2 separate regions of the Homo sapiens genome follow, and region 2 is linked to region 1. The links are contacts of gene promoters, found by promoter capture Hi-C in blood cells and fetal thymus (Javierre and others, 2016). All regions are on one chromosome and are shown on one strand. The core of a region is centred on a gene start or on the middle of the fragment in contact, and the rest is flanking DNA. Distances in the headings are between cores, read along the strand shown. Region 1 overlaps CFDP1 (craniofacial development protein 1). Region 2 holds the start of CTRB2 (chymotrypsinogen B2).

Region 1 (7,155 bases), core at 2,424-4,923:
ATTACAGGCGTGAGCCACTGCGTATGGCCTCTTTTTTTTTTTTTTTTTTTTTGAGACAGAGTCTCGCTCTGTTGCCCAAGCTAGAGTGCAGTGGCATGATCTTGGCTCACTACGATCCTCCCGGGTTCAAGTGATTCTCCTGCCTCAGCCTCACGAATACCTGAGACTACAGGTATGCACCACCACTCCCAGCTGATTTTTGCATTTTTGGTAGAGACGGGGTTTCACCATGTTCGTCAGACTAGTCTTGAACTCCTGGCCTCAAGTGATCCACCCACTTCAGCCTCCCAAAGTGCTGGGATTACAGGTCAGAGCCACCACATCCAGCCTCTTAGAGAGTCTTAAAACTGTGATCAAAAAAAAAACACGTTTTTAGAGGTTAAGGCAGAAGGATCGCTTGAGGCCAGGAGTTCAACGTGTCACTGAGCTGTGATCTTGCCACTGCACTCCAGCCTGGGTGACGGAGCAAAACCCTGTTTCTTTTAAAAACAAACAAACAAATCCAGGTTTTCTCACACCTGTAATGCCAGCACTTTGGGAGGCTAAGGCAGGAAGATTGCTCAAAGCCAGGTGTTTGAGACCAGCTTGGGCAACATGGTGAGAGACCTCATCTCTACAAAAAATAAAAAATTAGGCCGGGCGCAGTGGCTCACGCCTGTAATCCCAGCACTTTGGGAGGCCGAGGTGGGCGGATCACAAGGTCAGGAGATCGAGACCATCCTGGCTAACACGGTGAAACCCCATCTCTACTAAAAATACAAAAAAATTAGCCGGGCCTTGTGGTGGGTGCCTGTAGTCCCAGCTACTCGGGAGGCTGAGGCAGGAGAATGGCGTGAACCCGGGAGGCAGGGCTGGCAGTGAACCGAGATGGTGCCACTGCACGCCAGCCTGGGTGACAGAGCAAGACTCCGTCTCAAAAAAAAAAAAAAAAAAATTAGATGGGCATGATGGTGTGCATCTGTAGTCCCAGGTACCTGGGAGGCTGAGGTGGGAGGATCACTTGAGCCCAGGAGTTTTAGGCTGCAGTGAGCTGATTGCGCCACTGCACTCCAGTCTGGGTAATCAAGCGATTCTCGTGCCTCAGCCCAGTAGCTGGGACTAATTTTTGTATTTTTAGTAGAGACTGGGTTTCACCACGTTGGCGAGGTTGGTTTTTTTTTGTTTTTTGAGACGGAGTCTCACTCTGTCGCCCAGGCTGGAGAGCAGTGGTGCGATCTCCGCTCACTGCAACCTCCGCCTCTTGGGTTCACGCCATTCTCCTGCTTCAGCCTCCCGAGCAGCTGGGACTACAGGCACCCGCCACCTCGCCCGGCTAATTTTTTGTATTTTTAGTTGAGACGGGGTTTCACCACGTTAGCCAGGATGGTCTCGATCTCCTGACCTTGAGATCCGCCCACCTCGGCCTCCCAGGTTGGTCTTTAACTCCTGGCTTCAAGTGATCTGCACTCCTTGGCCTCCCAAAGTGCTGGGATTACAGGCGTGAGCAACTGCACCCAGCCTTTTTCCAAATATTTTCTATCTGCAGTTGGTTGAATCCATGGCTGTGGAAACCACAGATACAGAAGGCTGACTATATTAGCAAACCAAATTCAGCAATGTATAAATATATCCTGACCAAGTGAGCTGTCTCCCAGAAATAAGTCTGTCAGAAATTTGAAAATCAAACACTGTAATCCACCATATTAACAGACAAAAAAAAAGAAAAACCACATGTAATTAAATCAATAGATGGAGAAAAAGCATTTGACAAAATTCACCTCTCTGAAAATTAGGAACAGAGGGGAACTTATCTAACATGATAAAAGGAATCTCTGAGGGACAATATATGCAGACTGCCAAGGTTAACATTCCAGCTAAGTTACTATCTAACTGGATGAATTTCAGCCATTTGCTTAGACTTTGTGCCTCAGTTTTTTCATCAGTAAAATGCAGAACACAATTAGCACGTACAGTGTTAGGTGACTGAGTTGGTAATAAGTTACTCAATGCTAAAGGGTTTAAACGGCAGGCAGACAGACACACACGGCATCTGTGAAAAACCTATAGCTAACACCACATCAAGTGGTAAAACACTAGTTTCTTTTCCCCCTTAAGATTGGGAAAAAGGCTGCCAGACGCGGTGGCTCACGCCTATAATCCCAGCACTTTGGGAGGCTGAGGCGGGCGGATCACGAGGTCAGGAGATCAAGACCATTCTGGCTAACACGGTGAAACCCAGTCTCTACTAAAAATACAAAAACTTAGCGGGCGTGGTGGCGGGCGCCTGTAGTCCCAACTACTCGGGAGGCTGAGGCAGAAGAATGGCGTGAACCCAGGAGGCAGAGGTCACAGTGACCCAAGATCGTGCCACTGCACACTCCAGCCTGGGCAACAGAGGGAGACTCCGTCTCAAAAAAAAAAAAAAAAAGATTGGGAAAAAGGCAAAGATGTCCCCTCTCACCACTAGCATTCAACATCATACTGGAAGTATAAAGTACAACAAGGCAAGCAAAATAAATATAAAAGGTAAACATATTGGAAAGGAAGAAATAAAACTGTTTCTATTCACATTTGACATCACTGTCTGTGTGGAAAATCCCACAGAATCTACAAAAACCTCCAGAACTGGTAAATGAGTTTAGCAAGGTTGTAGAATACAAGGTTAGTATGCAGAACCTGTATTGTATTTCCATATACTAGTTACAAACAATTAGAAATAAAAACTTTTTACACCTAAAAAAAAAAGATACAGACTGTATTCATAGACTAAAATATAAGATCGTTAAATTGTCAATTCTTCCCAAAACGGTCTACAGATTCAATGCAATTCCAAACAAAATCAAAGTAGGATACTTTTTCGAGAGATGAACAAAGTGATTTTACAATGCATATGGTGGCCAGGCCTGGTGGCACACGTCTGTAGTACCAGCTACACAGGAGGCTGAGGAAGGAGAATCACTTGAACCTGGGAGGTAGAGGTTGCAGTGAGCAGAGATCGCGCCACTGCACTCCAGCCTGGGCAACAGAGTGACACTCCATCCCCCTCAAAAAAAAAAAAAAAAAAAAAACTATATGGAAAGGCAAAGGAACAAGAGCAGCCAAAACTATTTTGAAAAAGAATAAAGTTGGAGTACTCTCTCTACCTGATTTCAACACTTAAATCAAAAACAGTAAATGAAACTGTGGAAACAGAGGCCCAGAAATAAACCTATACAAGTATGGCCAGTTCACTTTACAGAAATACAAAGGGAATTCGATGGAGAAAGAATAATCTTTTCAACAAATAATGAAAATACTGGACATCCAGATGCAAAAGAAAAAAAAAAAAAGAATCCATAACTCATATCTTATGCAAAAATTAACTGAAAATAAATAATGATAACTGATTTTTTAAAAAAGTAAATGCTGGCCGGGCACGGTGGCTCACTCCTGTAATCCCAGCACTTTGGGAGGCCGGGGTGGGCGGATTACCTGAGAGGTCAGGAGTTCAAGACCAGCCTGGCCAACATGGTGAAACCCCATCTCCACTAAAAATACAAAAATTAGCCAGGCGTGGTGGCAGGCGCCTATAATCCCAACTACTCGGGAAGCTGAGGCAGGAGAATCGCTTGAACCTGGGAGGCGGAGGTTGCAGCGAGCTGAGATCATGCCACTGCACTCAAGCCTGGGCAACAGAGCAACACTCTGTCTCAAAAAAAAAAAAAAAAAAAAAAAAAAAAGTAAAGGCCAGGCACTGTGGCTTATGCCTATAATCCCAACACTTTGGGAGGCCGAGGTGGGCGGATCACCTGAGGTTGGGAGTTCAAGACCAGCCTGACCAACATGGAGAAACCCTGTCTCTACTAAAAATACAAAATTAGCCAGGCGTGGTGGCACATGCCTGCAATCCCAGCTACTCAGGAGGCTGAGGCAGGAGAATCCCTTGAACTCAGGAGGCGGAGGTTGCAGTGAGCCAAGATCATGACATTGCACTCCAGCCTGGGCAACAAGAGCGAAACTCTATCTCAAAAAAACAAAAACAACAACAAAGTAAAACTATGTAACTTTTACATAGGAAAATACACTATCTTTGTAATCCCGAGTTAGGCAAAAAAGAGTTCTTAGATATGATTCCAAAAGCACAACCCATAATAGAAAAATTTGACAAACTGGATTTTATCCAAGTTTAAAAATTTTACTCTGCAGGCCAGGCATGGTGTCTCATGCCTGTAGTCCCAGTTACTACAGAGGCTGAGGCAGGAAAATTGTTTGAGCCCAGGAAGTAAAGGTTGCAGTGAGGTGAAATCGTGCCACTGCATTCCAGCCTGGGCAACAGAGCAAGACTCTGTTTCAAAAAAACACCAAAAAAAATTGCTGTGCAAACACTATTAAGAGAATGAAAAGACAAGCACAGAGACAAAACACTGCAAAACAAGTATGTGACAAAGGAGCCGGGGGTGGTGACTCAGGCCTGTACTCCCAGCACTTTGGGAGGCCAAGGTGGGTGGATCACTTGAGGTTGGGAGTTGGAGACCAGCCTGGCAAACATGGTGAAACCCCATCTCTACTGAAAATACAAAAATTAGCTGGGTGTGGTGGCGAGTGCTTGTAATCCCACCTACTTGGGAGGCTGAGGCAGGAGAATCGCTTGAACCCGGGAGGTGGAGGTTGTGGTGAGCCAAGATTATGCCACTGTACTCCAGCCTGGGGGACAGCGAGACTGTCTCAAAAAAAAAAAAACAAAACAAATATCTGACAAAGGACTATATCCAGAATATATAATTCCAAAACTGAAAACAACCCAATGTTTTAAATGGACAAAGAATTCAAAAGACACACCAAAGAAGATAAAATGATGGCAAACAGGAACATGAAAAGAGCATCAACATCCTTAGGGAAATGCAAACTAAAGGAGAAATTAGCTAATTTTTTTTCTTTTTTTTTCGAGACAGTGTCTCGCTCTCTTGCCCAGGCTGGAGTGCAGTGGCACAATTCCGGCTCACTGCAACCTCCACCTCCTGGGTTCAAGCGATTCTCCTTCCTCATCCTCCCAAGTAGCTGGGACTACAGGCATGCACCACCATGCCCGGCTAATTCTTTGTATTTTTTAGTAGAGACAGGGTTTCAACATATTGGCCAGGCTGGTCTTGGACTCCTGACCTTGTGATCTGCCTGCCTTGGCCTCCCAAAGTGGTGGGAATACAGGCATGAGCCACCGCGCTCGGCCCCAAATTAGCTAATATTTAAAACAAAAACAAAAACAAAAAAATCTGACCACCCCAAGTGTTGTTGAGGATGAAGAGCAACTTGAACTCTCAAACTTGTTACCAACAGCAATCAAGCCACAAAAAAATTTAGCAGCTTCTTGTAAAGTTAAACATACACATACTACAAAACCCAGTAATCCCACTCCTAGATATTGACTCAAGTGAAATGAAAACCCATGTTCACAGAAAAAGCTGTGTGTAAATATTTATAAACAGCTTTATTTGTAATCATAAAAAATTGGAAACAACCCAGTGTCTTTCAAATGCAGAATAAACTGTGGTATATCCATATAATGGACTACCACCCAACAACAGAAGGAGCTAATTACTGACATGTGCAACAACACAGGTGAATCTCAAATGCATTATGCTAAGCGGAAGAAGCCAGATACAAAAAGCTGCCTACTGTTATGGTTCCATTTAGATTATATTCTGAAAAAGGCAAAACTATAAAGATGGAAAACAGACCAGAGGTTGCTAATGGCTGGGGCCGGGGGTGAGGGAGAGTTGTTTGACTACAAAGAGTAGCAGGGGAAATTTGTTTTTTTTTTTTTTTAAGAGGGTTGACGGCTTGAAACTGTTCATTTTGGTGGAGGTTACACAACGCTAGGCATTTAACAAAAATCAGAGAACAGTACATTGAAAACAGTAAATTTTATTGTATGTAAGTTAAAAATTGTATGTTAAATGCTGATACTGCATTTACAAAAGAAGAACATAATGCTATAAAAATATTCAAAGTTGGCTGGGCTCAGTGGCTCACACCTGTAATCCCAGCACTTTGGGAGGCCGAAGCAAGTGGATCACAAGGTCAGGAGATCGAGACCATCTTGACCAACAAGGTGAAGCCCCGTCTCTATTAAAATACAAAAACAAAATTAGCCAGGTGTGGTGGCACGCGCCTGTATCCCAGCTACTCGAGAGGCTGAGGCAGGGGAATCGCTTGAACCCGGAAGGCGGAAGTTGCAGTGAGCCGAGATTGCGCCACTGCACTCCAGCCTGGGTGACAGAGCTATACTCCATCTCAAAAATAAATAAATAGAGAGAGAGAAAAAGAAGGGCGGAGAGGGAGAGAAAGAAAAAAAAGAAAGGAAGGAAAGGAAAAGAAAGAGTGAGAGAGGAAAGAAAGGAAAAGGAAAAGGAAAAAAAATTATAGGAAAAAAAAGTTCTCAGAAGGCTCAGCAAAATGGCTGAAAACACTCATACCAAGATATATCATGGTGACATATTAGAAAATGGGAACAGGCCAGGCGTAGAGGCTCACGCCTGTAATCCCAGCACTTTGGGAGGCCGAGGCAGGCAGATCATGAGGTCAGGAGTTCGAGACCAGGCTGGCCAACATGGTGAAATCCCGTCTCTACTATAAAAATACAAAAATTAGCCAGGCGTGGTGGCATGAACCTGTAGTCCCAGCCACTCCGGAGGCTGAGGTGGGAGAGTTGCTTAAACCCGGGAAGTGGAGGTTGCAGGGAGCCTAGATGCCACCACTGCACTCTAGCCTGGACAAGAGAGACAGAGTCTGTCTCGAAAAAAAAGAAAAAAGAAAATGGGAACAAAGAGAATATTCTACCAGCTTCCGGAGACAAACAGATCTTATACATTGAGCAGAAATCAGTAACAAAATATTTATTAATAGCAACATGGGAATCTAGAAAGTAATGAAGTAACACTTTAAAATTCTGATGGAAAATTATTTCCAACCTAGAATTCAAACAGACAATCAATTACGCCTGAGGGGCATGGTTACTTTTAGGCATTCAAGGTCTCATAAGAATGTTCCTGACCAGGCGTGGTGGCTCACGCCTGTAATCCCAGCAGTTTGGGAGGCTGAGGAGGGCGGATCACCTGAGGTCAGGAGTTCAATATCAGCCTGGCCAACATGGTGAAACCCCGTCTCTACTAAAAATACAAAAATTAGCTGGGTGTGGTG
Region 2 (7,155 bases), core at 1,919-4,418, 220 kb before region 1:
TTAACTGCAGCCTGGAAAGGGAACGGTAGTGCTGCCCCTTTGTGGGTGACAAGGACAACTTCAAGCCCACCTCCCCTGGGCCACACAGACACAGGCAGTGCAGTCAGGGCTTCTAAACAGATGCATTTAATGGGAAATCTTAAGGCAGGGGTGGCAGGAGCTGCGGGCTCAGTTGGCGGCCAGGATCTTCTGCACCCAGGGTATGAGCTTGGCGACACGGGCGTACACAGCGGGCGTGGTGGTAGAGCAGGTGCGGCTGCCCCAGGACACAATGCCCACCAGGGTCCAGGCTCCGTCCTTCTGGCAGACCAGGGGGCCTCCAGAGTCACCCTGCAGGAAGGAGAGGAAGTATCTCTAGGCCTGAAAGGGGTGCCAGGGCCTAGGGGACCCTGACCTGGTGGAGTCTAGGGAGGGGTGCGGAGAAATGGTAAGCATGGGCATAGGGGCTGTGCCGGGGTCCTGAGATCTGGGTTCACATGGCAGCCCCCACTCTGCCATGCACTCTTGGAGGGAGCTGGGGCAGGTGGCTTCCCTCTCTAAGCCGGGGCACCATCCATCTCTCCAAACCTCCAGCTCACAGGGCTGCAAGGAAGTCCCCAGGGGCAGCCTCAGCTGCATGGCCTGGAGGAACCCTCATGGGCGGCTGTGACCCCAAGGCCTGGCCCTCACTGGGCCCCAGGAGGGTGTGGGGTTAGTAGATGAGAGCAGAGAGGGGTGGAAAGCCCAGACCTCCCCTGCACCCCGCTCGCCTGGCCAGGGCCTGGGCAGGGCCAGCCTCACCATGCAGGAGGAGACGCCACTGGCCCCGGCACAGATCATCACGTCGGTGATCCTCCTGCCCCAGGACTTCTTGCATTCGGCATTGGACAGGAGGGGCAGGGCTGCCTGCTGCAGCTTGTCAGGGGTCTTGTTGGCTGCAGGACAGGAGGAGGGTCAGGGCCCCTGGGCTCACTCAGCCAAGAGTGGAGGGAGAGACCCGGGGCCGACACGCCTGCCCTACCCTGCACCATCACCACGATGTTGGGTACGGCCCCTGGAGCCTCAGAAGCGCCTGTGGGACAAGGGGGCCTCGGCCCTGCCCGGGTGGGAGCCCCACGCTGCGACTCCAGGCAGGTCAGCCAGGGCAGGGCTCACCCGGCCGGGCGCTGCTCAGAAGCTCCCTGTGCAGGCTCCTCATGATCCGACCTGGATTTTATTTGCATTTGGGGGATTTTAAATTCAGAAGATTTTCAATAACGAACGGGCAGTTAGGAGCGTGTTGGAATTTAGAGCCAAACGGTCACGGGGGGACTCCACGGCCAGGCAGCCCAGACCCCAGAGGCAGCCCCGCGGCCCCTCACCGTTGTACTTGGTCTTGCCCCAGCCTGTGGTGGCACACAGTGTCCCCGCGGGGAAGTCGTCGTCGGCGCTGGGCAGGCACACGGCGGACACTGTCTGGGAGAAGCGGGCAGGTGTGGCCAGCTTCAGCAGGGTGATGTCATTGTTCACGGTCAGAATGCTGAACTTGGGGTTCTTGAAGACCTGGGGGTGGGGGCCAGAGTGCCGGGGTGAGGCCCTGGGAGGAGGCAGGACCTGCAGGCTTCGAGGACAGACTCCTTCCCTGGTGCCCGTTAAGGAGCAGTCCATCCCCAGGGCCGGAATGGGAATCACGAGGCCGGCCCGGCCCCACTGGGCGCCTGTCCCTGAAGCAGCCGAGGGGTCTCCCCCCGTGCCCACGGCCCTGCCCTCTGCTGCACGGGGCCTGGGTACCTTGGCGATCTTCAGGACCTGGATGTTCTCCTCGTCAGAGCCCTGGTCAAACTCCCCAGCCACGACCACGTCGGAGGTCCTGGGCAGAGCGTTGTGGGTGAGAGAACATGCCCTGCTCCCCTCCCACCCGACCGGTGCTGGAAGCGGAGCCCAAGGCTGCCCGGTCCTCACCTGACCCCGCAGTGGGCAGCGGTGACCACCCAGTCCTCGCTGATGAGGGAGCCCCCGCAGAAGTGGAAGCCGGTTTTGTCCTGTGAGCAAGATGGGGAGGGTCAGCACCTCCCACCCGGGGGCACCCCCAGCCTGGCCCCTACCCAGGGTGCCCCCCACCTTGCAGAACCCCCTCACCTGCAGGGACACCTGCCAGGGCCAGGAGCCGGGGACGGCGTCCTCCCCATTCACGATCCTGGACAGGCCGCTGAGCACAGGGTGGATGGCGGGGACCCCGCAGCCTGGGGGCGGGAGTGGGCTGAGGGGTGGGTACCACCCACCCAGGTCCTAATGCTCCAGCCTCCTCTCACTCCCAACTCTTTTCCAGTCTCTGGGACCTAGACTGGCTCCCACATCCCCTTCTCTGAGAAGTTGGCCCTGGCTCTCCTCTCCGCAGAGCTGGAATCCCCAGGTACAACTGAGTCCAATGAACTGGGCTGTGGGCTGCTGAGGAATGGGGTGTTGGCCCCACCTCAGTTCGGAGAAGTCACACAGGTGGAGCGTGCGGTGGGCGGCAGCCCCGGCGCTCAGTCTGGGAGGCCAGACTCTGTGGGTTTGAACCTGGCTCCCTCCCTGCCCAGCTAAGCCACTCAGTGTCCCCATCAGCAAAGTGGGGATCACGCTGTTTCTGACCTCACAGGTTTGGTAGAGTGAGCAGGCAGAGCGCCAGCTCTGCGCCTGGCACCCGGGAAGTGCTCCGTGAGCAGGAGTTTAAGAGGGTGAGGCTCGAGGTTCTGAAAGGTTTGGACTGAACGGTGCCAAGCCCCAGCTGCCCACACATTCACCACCCAAACCTGTGCTGGGGCCGCTGACTGTTTGGGGGTTTCCCGAAGGCCTCAGGGCAGCCCCCGGACACCTGCCTCCTCCCCCCGCCTCCTCCCCTGAGAGCCTCAGGTCTGCTGGGGGTGAGGAAGGGGAGCGGGACTCCCCATCTCCTGAGCTCAGAGGCGGCAGCTGAGCCTGGGAGGGAGGCATTGACCTCTCAGCGCCCACGGCAGAGATGGAGCCGGTGACTCGCCCAGGCCCACACTGCGGTGCACAGCTGAACTGGGAGCTGGGACCCTGCTGCCTCTTGCTGGCCTCGGGGCTGGGAGTGAGAGGAGAAAACCCTTCGGCCTCCGCAGGGCCTGGCACTCACCGAAGGTGGTACCCAGGAGGGCCCAGCAGGAGAGGAGCCAGAGGAAAGCCATGGTGCCGCTGGCAGGGGTGTAGGACGCCTGTCTGCCGGTCCCCGTTATAGCCCTGTGTGCCTGCTGTTATCTGGAGACCTTGGGGCGATAATCCCTTCCCTGGGAGTGGGCAAGATGTGTCGGTGCAGGGCTGGCCAGGAAGCCTGGGATGGCAGCAGCTGTGGCCTTAGCTGAGCCGGGCTAACCCAGGTGGCCTTCGACCATTGCCTTTCTCCTCCAGGCCCAGGCTTGGGCAGGGGCCTCCAGGGGCTGAGTCCAGCATCCCCGGGTTTGAGCCCCAGCTGAGTCTCTTGTGCTCTGCAAAGAATTCACTTGATCTTTTCATGGTTTGAAAACCCCTGGGCAGGCCGGGCATGGTGGCTCACGCCTGTAATCCCAGCACTTTGGGAGGCTGAGGCGGATGGATCACGAGGTCAAGAGATCAAGACCATCCTGGCCAACATGGTGAAACTCCGTCTCTACTAAAAATACAAAAAATTAGCCAGGCGTGGTGGCGCACACCTGTATTCCCAGCTACTTGGGAGGCTGAGGCAGGAGAATGGTGTGAACCCGGGAGGCGGAGGTTGCAGTGAGACGAGATTGCGCCACTACACTCCAGCCTTGTGACAGTGAGACTGTCTCAAAAAAGGAAAAAAAACAAAAAAAAAGAAAAAAACCCAATGGGCAATGTGACCAAGTAGAGGAGAGGCTGGGGGAGCAGGCCTGTGCCCCATGGTGTAGCCAGAGGCTGGGGTGCGGGTGCTCGCCGGGTCCCAGGGGATGGCTAAGAAGGCTCAGTGAAGGCCCAGTCGACATCTGTGTTGGTCACTTGGGCTGTGTACAGGGGAGGGGTAGCTACCTGCTGTCCTCACACTGGGCCACCCCTGCACACAGGCGCCAGCACACCTGGGCCCTGGAGCTGAGCAGGTGGCATCAGAGGGCAAGACTGGGCCTAGGGCCCGGCCTGGGGGCCTGGCATCGCCCTGATGAGAACTGATGGAGGCTGAGCCTCAGGGCAGAGCATGGGCGGGGACACCTGGTTCCTCGTGCGGGTGGCAGCATGGGTGGTGGAGCCCTTTCTCAGCAACTGGGAAACGGGGGAGGGAGAAATTTTGGATTGAGGCTGCCAGATGGAGGGCAAGTTCCCCAAAATGCACAGGAAAAGGTGCCTCGTGGCTGTTTTCAATTCCACCACACTGATGCCTGCAGCATGTGTGTTTACAGCACGGGTTGTGGGGTCAGGCAGCTGTGGAGCCGTGGGCAAATGACTTGCCCTCTCTGATCCTGTATGTAATTGAGGATGCTTAGAGTATGGGTCCCATGACAAAAGGAAGAGCCTTCTTGAGCACCAGGACCAGGCCAAGCATGCAATCCACGCTGGCGGGGCCCCTACATTCCTCTTTCTTGAGTGAATCACCTGTTCAGGCCCTTCGCTCATTCTAGAAGATTGTCTGAGGACAGAGGGGTTGGCGGGCACCAGCAGGACGGAGCATGGCCTGGTCGGGATGAGACGCACCCACCTCTGCATGCACATGGGCTCTTCCTGCCAGCCAGTGCCCACCAGGCCCACGGGAACAGCTGAACAAAACCAACAAATTCCTGCGTGTGGCAGCTGACAGCCGGGAGGAGGCTGGAGAGTTTAGGGAAGAGAGTCAATTTTTAAAATAAGTAAAATACACACACCAGCAGCTAAAGAGTTCTTCTTCTCATTATTATTACTGATACTGAGGCCAGGAGGGCCTCACTCTGAAGGGGAGATTTAAGCAAACAGCCTAGGAGTTTGTGGGAGCAGTCCAGAGCACCCTCGGAGGAGAGGAAACGAACCTGGGGTCGCAGGACCCAAAGAGGTCTGCGTCCCTAGGGCAGCGAAGAGCTCAGAAGTCGAGGGGGCGGGCCCAGGAGGGCCCTAAGGAGACGGTACTAGAGCCTCAGGGGCAGCCCCTAGCTATAAGCTGGCTGGGGCAGATGGGGGAAAGGGCGCAAGCCCTCACCTGGCCTGAGTGACCTGTGGCCCCAGCTGTGTGGCCTTAGGAGCTAACCGCTGGCCAGGACGTCACCCGCCATGTCCCCAACCCCGCAAAGGCTACAGAGGCTTGTGGGAACCGTGCAGCTGCAGCAGTGGTCGGGGACAGGCACGCACAGGTGTTCCCACTCCACTGCTCCTGGGGAAGGGACCCCTCCCCCACACTGCCCTCCAGTCCCCATGGGATCTGGACCCGAACGGCGAGGAAGGAGCCCGGGGACACTCAGGACAGATGAGTCAGGACACACGCGTGAGCCGGGGCCCTGGTGGATCGGGGAGGCAGAACCGTGGCCTTGGCCAGAGTGGGAGCGGGAGGGATGAGCTGGGGGTCCCCACGTGCTGCAGCCTCCTGGCCACCTCTTCCTTTACTTACCTTGAAATGCCCTCACTTAAAATGTATATAAAGCCAGGTGCAGTAGCTCATGCCTGTGATCCCAGCACTTTGGGAGGCCGAGGCAGGAGGCTCACTTGAGCCCAGGAGTTCAAGACCAGCCTGGGCAACATGGTGAGACCCCGTCTGTACAAAAAATAAATTAGTCAGGTGTGATGGCGCAGGCATGGAGTCCCAGATCCAGGCTGGGACTTGGGAAACTGAGATGGGAGGATCACTTGAGCGTAGGAGGTGGAGGCTGCAAGTGAGCGGTGATCATGCCACTGGACTCCAGCCTGGGCGACAGGGTGAGAGCCTGTCTCAAAAAAACAAAAACAAACAAACAAACAAACAACCAAACAAACAACGAAGTGGATATAGGTTGATAACTTGTGAGGATCCAGGCACCTCTGTACCCACCACCTGCCTCAAGGCAGAGACCATTTCCTTCACAGCCCCTTGGCAGTCAATCCCCCACCTCCAGAAGCAACCACTGTTCTGATTTCTTTACCCGGAGGTTAGGTTTTGGTTTTGGTTGAAAGAGGCTGGTTCTGATGCCCAGGCTGTAGTGCAGTGGCATGATCACGGCTCACTGCAGCCTCAGCCTCCTCAGCTCAAGCAATCCTCCCACCTCAGCCTCCTAAAGTGCTGGGATTACAGGTGTGAGTCATCGCACCAGGGGATGTTGTCGTTATTGTTAAATTTTAAAAACTGTTAGCAGCCAGGTGCAGTGGCTCATGGTTGTAATCCTTGCGCTTTGGGAGGCCAAGGGGAGAGGATCCCTTTAGCTCAGGAGTTCAAGACCAGCCTGGGCAGCATAGTGAGACCTGTCGCTAAAAAAAAAAAAAAAAAAAAAAAAAGCCAGGCATGGTAGCTGGCACCTGTAATCCCAGGTACTGGGGATGCTAAGGTAAGAGCATGGCTTGAGCCCGGGAGGAGGAGGTTGCAGTGAGCTGAGATCACGCCACTGCACTCCAGCCTGGGGGACAGAGCCAGACCTTGTCTCACACACACACACAAAACCAACTTTAAATTGTGGTAATACACATAACAAAATTGACCATTGCACCCGTTGTTTCTTTGCTTGTTTGTTTGCTTTTGAGATAGAGTCTCACTCTGTCGCCCAGGCTGGAGTGAAGTGGCATGATCTTGGCTCACTGCAAGCTCTGCCTCCCGGGTTCATGCCATGCTCCTGCCTCAGCCTCCTGAGTAGCTGGGACTATAGGCGCCCGCCACCACGCCCAGCTAATTTTTTTGTATATTTCAGTATAGATGGCGTTTCACTGTGTTAGCCAGGATGGTCTCGACCTCCTGACCTCGTGATCCGCCCACCCCGGCCTCCCAAAGTGCTGGGATTACAGGCTTGAGCCACCATGCCCGGCCCGCACCTGTTTTTAAGTGTACCATTCAGCGCTAAGCACGTCCACAGTGCCGTGCGGCCACTCATCTCACGGAACTGAAACTCTGAATCCTGCCCATCAGTTAGTTTTCGGGTTCTGGAATTTCATGTGAACAGAACCCAGGTGTTTCTGGAAATCCGGCTGCTTTCACTCAGCATCTGGTCTTTGGAGTTCACCCACGCTGTTGCAGAGAGCAGCAGTCTCTTCCTTTTTATTGCTGGAATGCACTACAGT

What was found. The method cuts DNA at HindIII sites, captures the fragments that hold promoters and counts their contacts. A CHiCAGO score of 5 or more calls a contact.
Region 2: the fragment with the promoter of CTRB2 here is called in contact with a fragment that was not itself captured in region 1 in 3 of 17 cell types (M1 macrophages, non-activated CD4 T cells and endothelial precursors); the score reaches 5.6 in M1 macrophages.

Annotation. Positions count from the first base shown.
Region 1 is chr16:75,422,366-75,429,520 of GRCh38, forward strand. The region is part of intron 1 of CFDP1 (craniofacial development protein 1); the gene reads right to left. Among named protein-coding and RNA genes, the nearest start is that of CFDP1, 7.6 kb to the right of the region's middle. The HindIII fragment of the contact is 9,499 bases long and covers 1-7,155 here.
Region 2 is chr16:75,203,993-75,211,147 of GRCh38, forward strand. CTRB2 (chymotrypsinogen B2) reads right to left here and starts at 3,169. Exons shown (of 7, transcript NM_001025200.4): 1 at 3,098-3,169; 2 at 2,098-2,201; 3 at 1,921-2,000; 4 at 1,750-1,828; 5 at 1,341-1,521; 6 at 781-914; 7 at 111-330. The coding sequence starts at 3,149. The coding sequence ends at 169. RefSeq lists a silencer at 2,759-2,978 and enhancers at 4,651-5,206, 5,207-5,762. The HindIII fragment of the contact is 10,617 bases long and covers 1-7,155 here.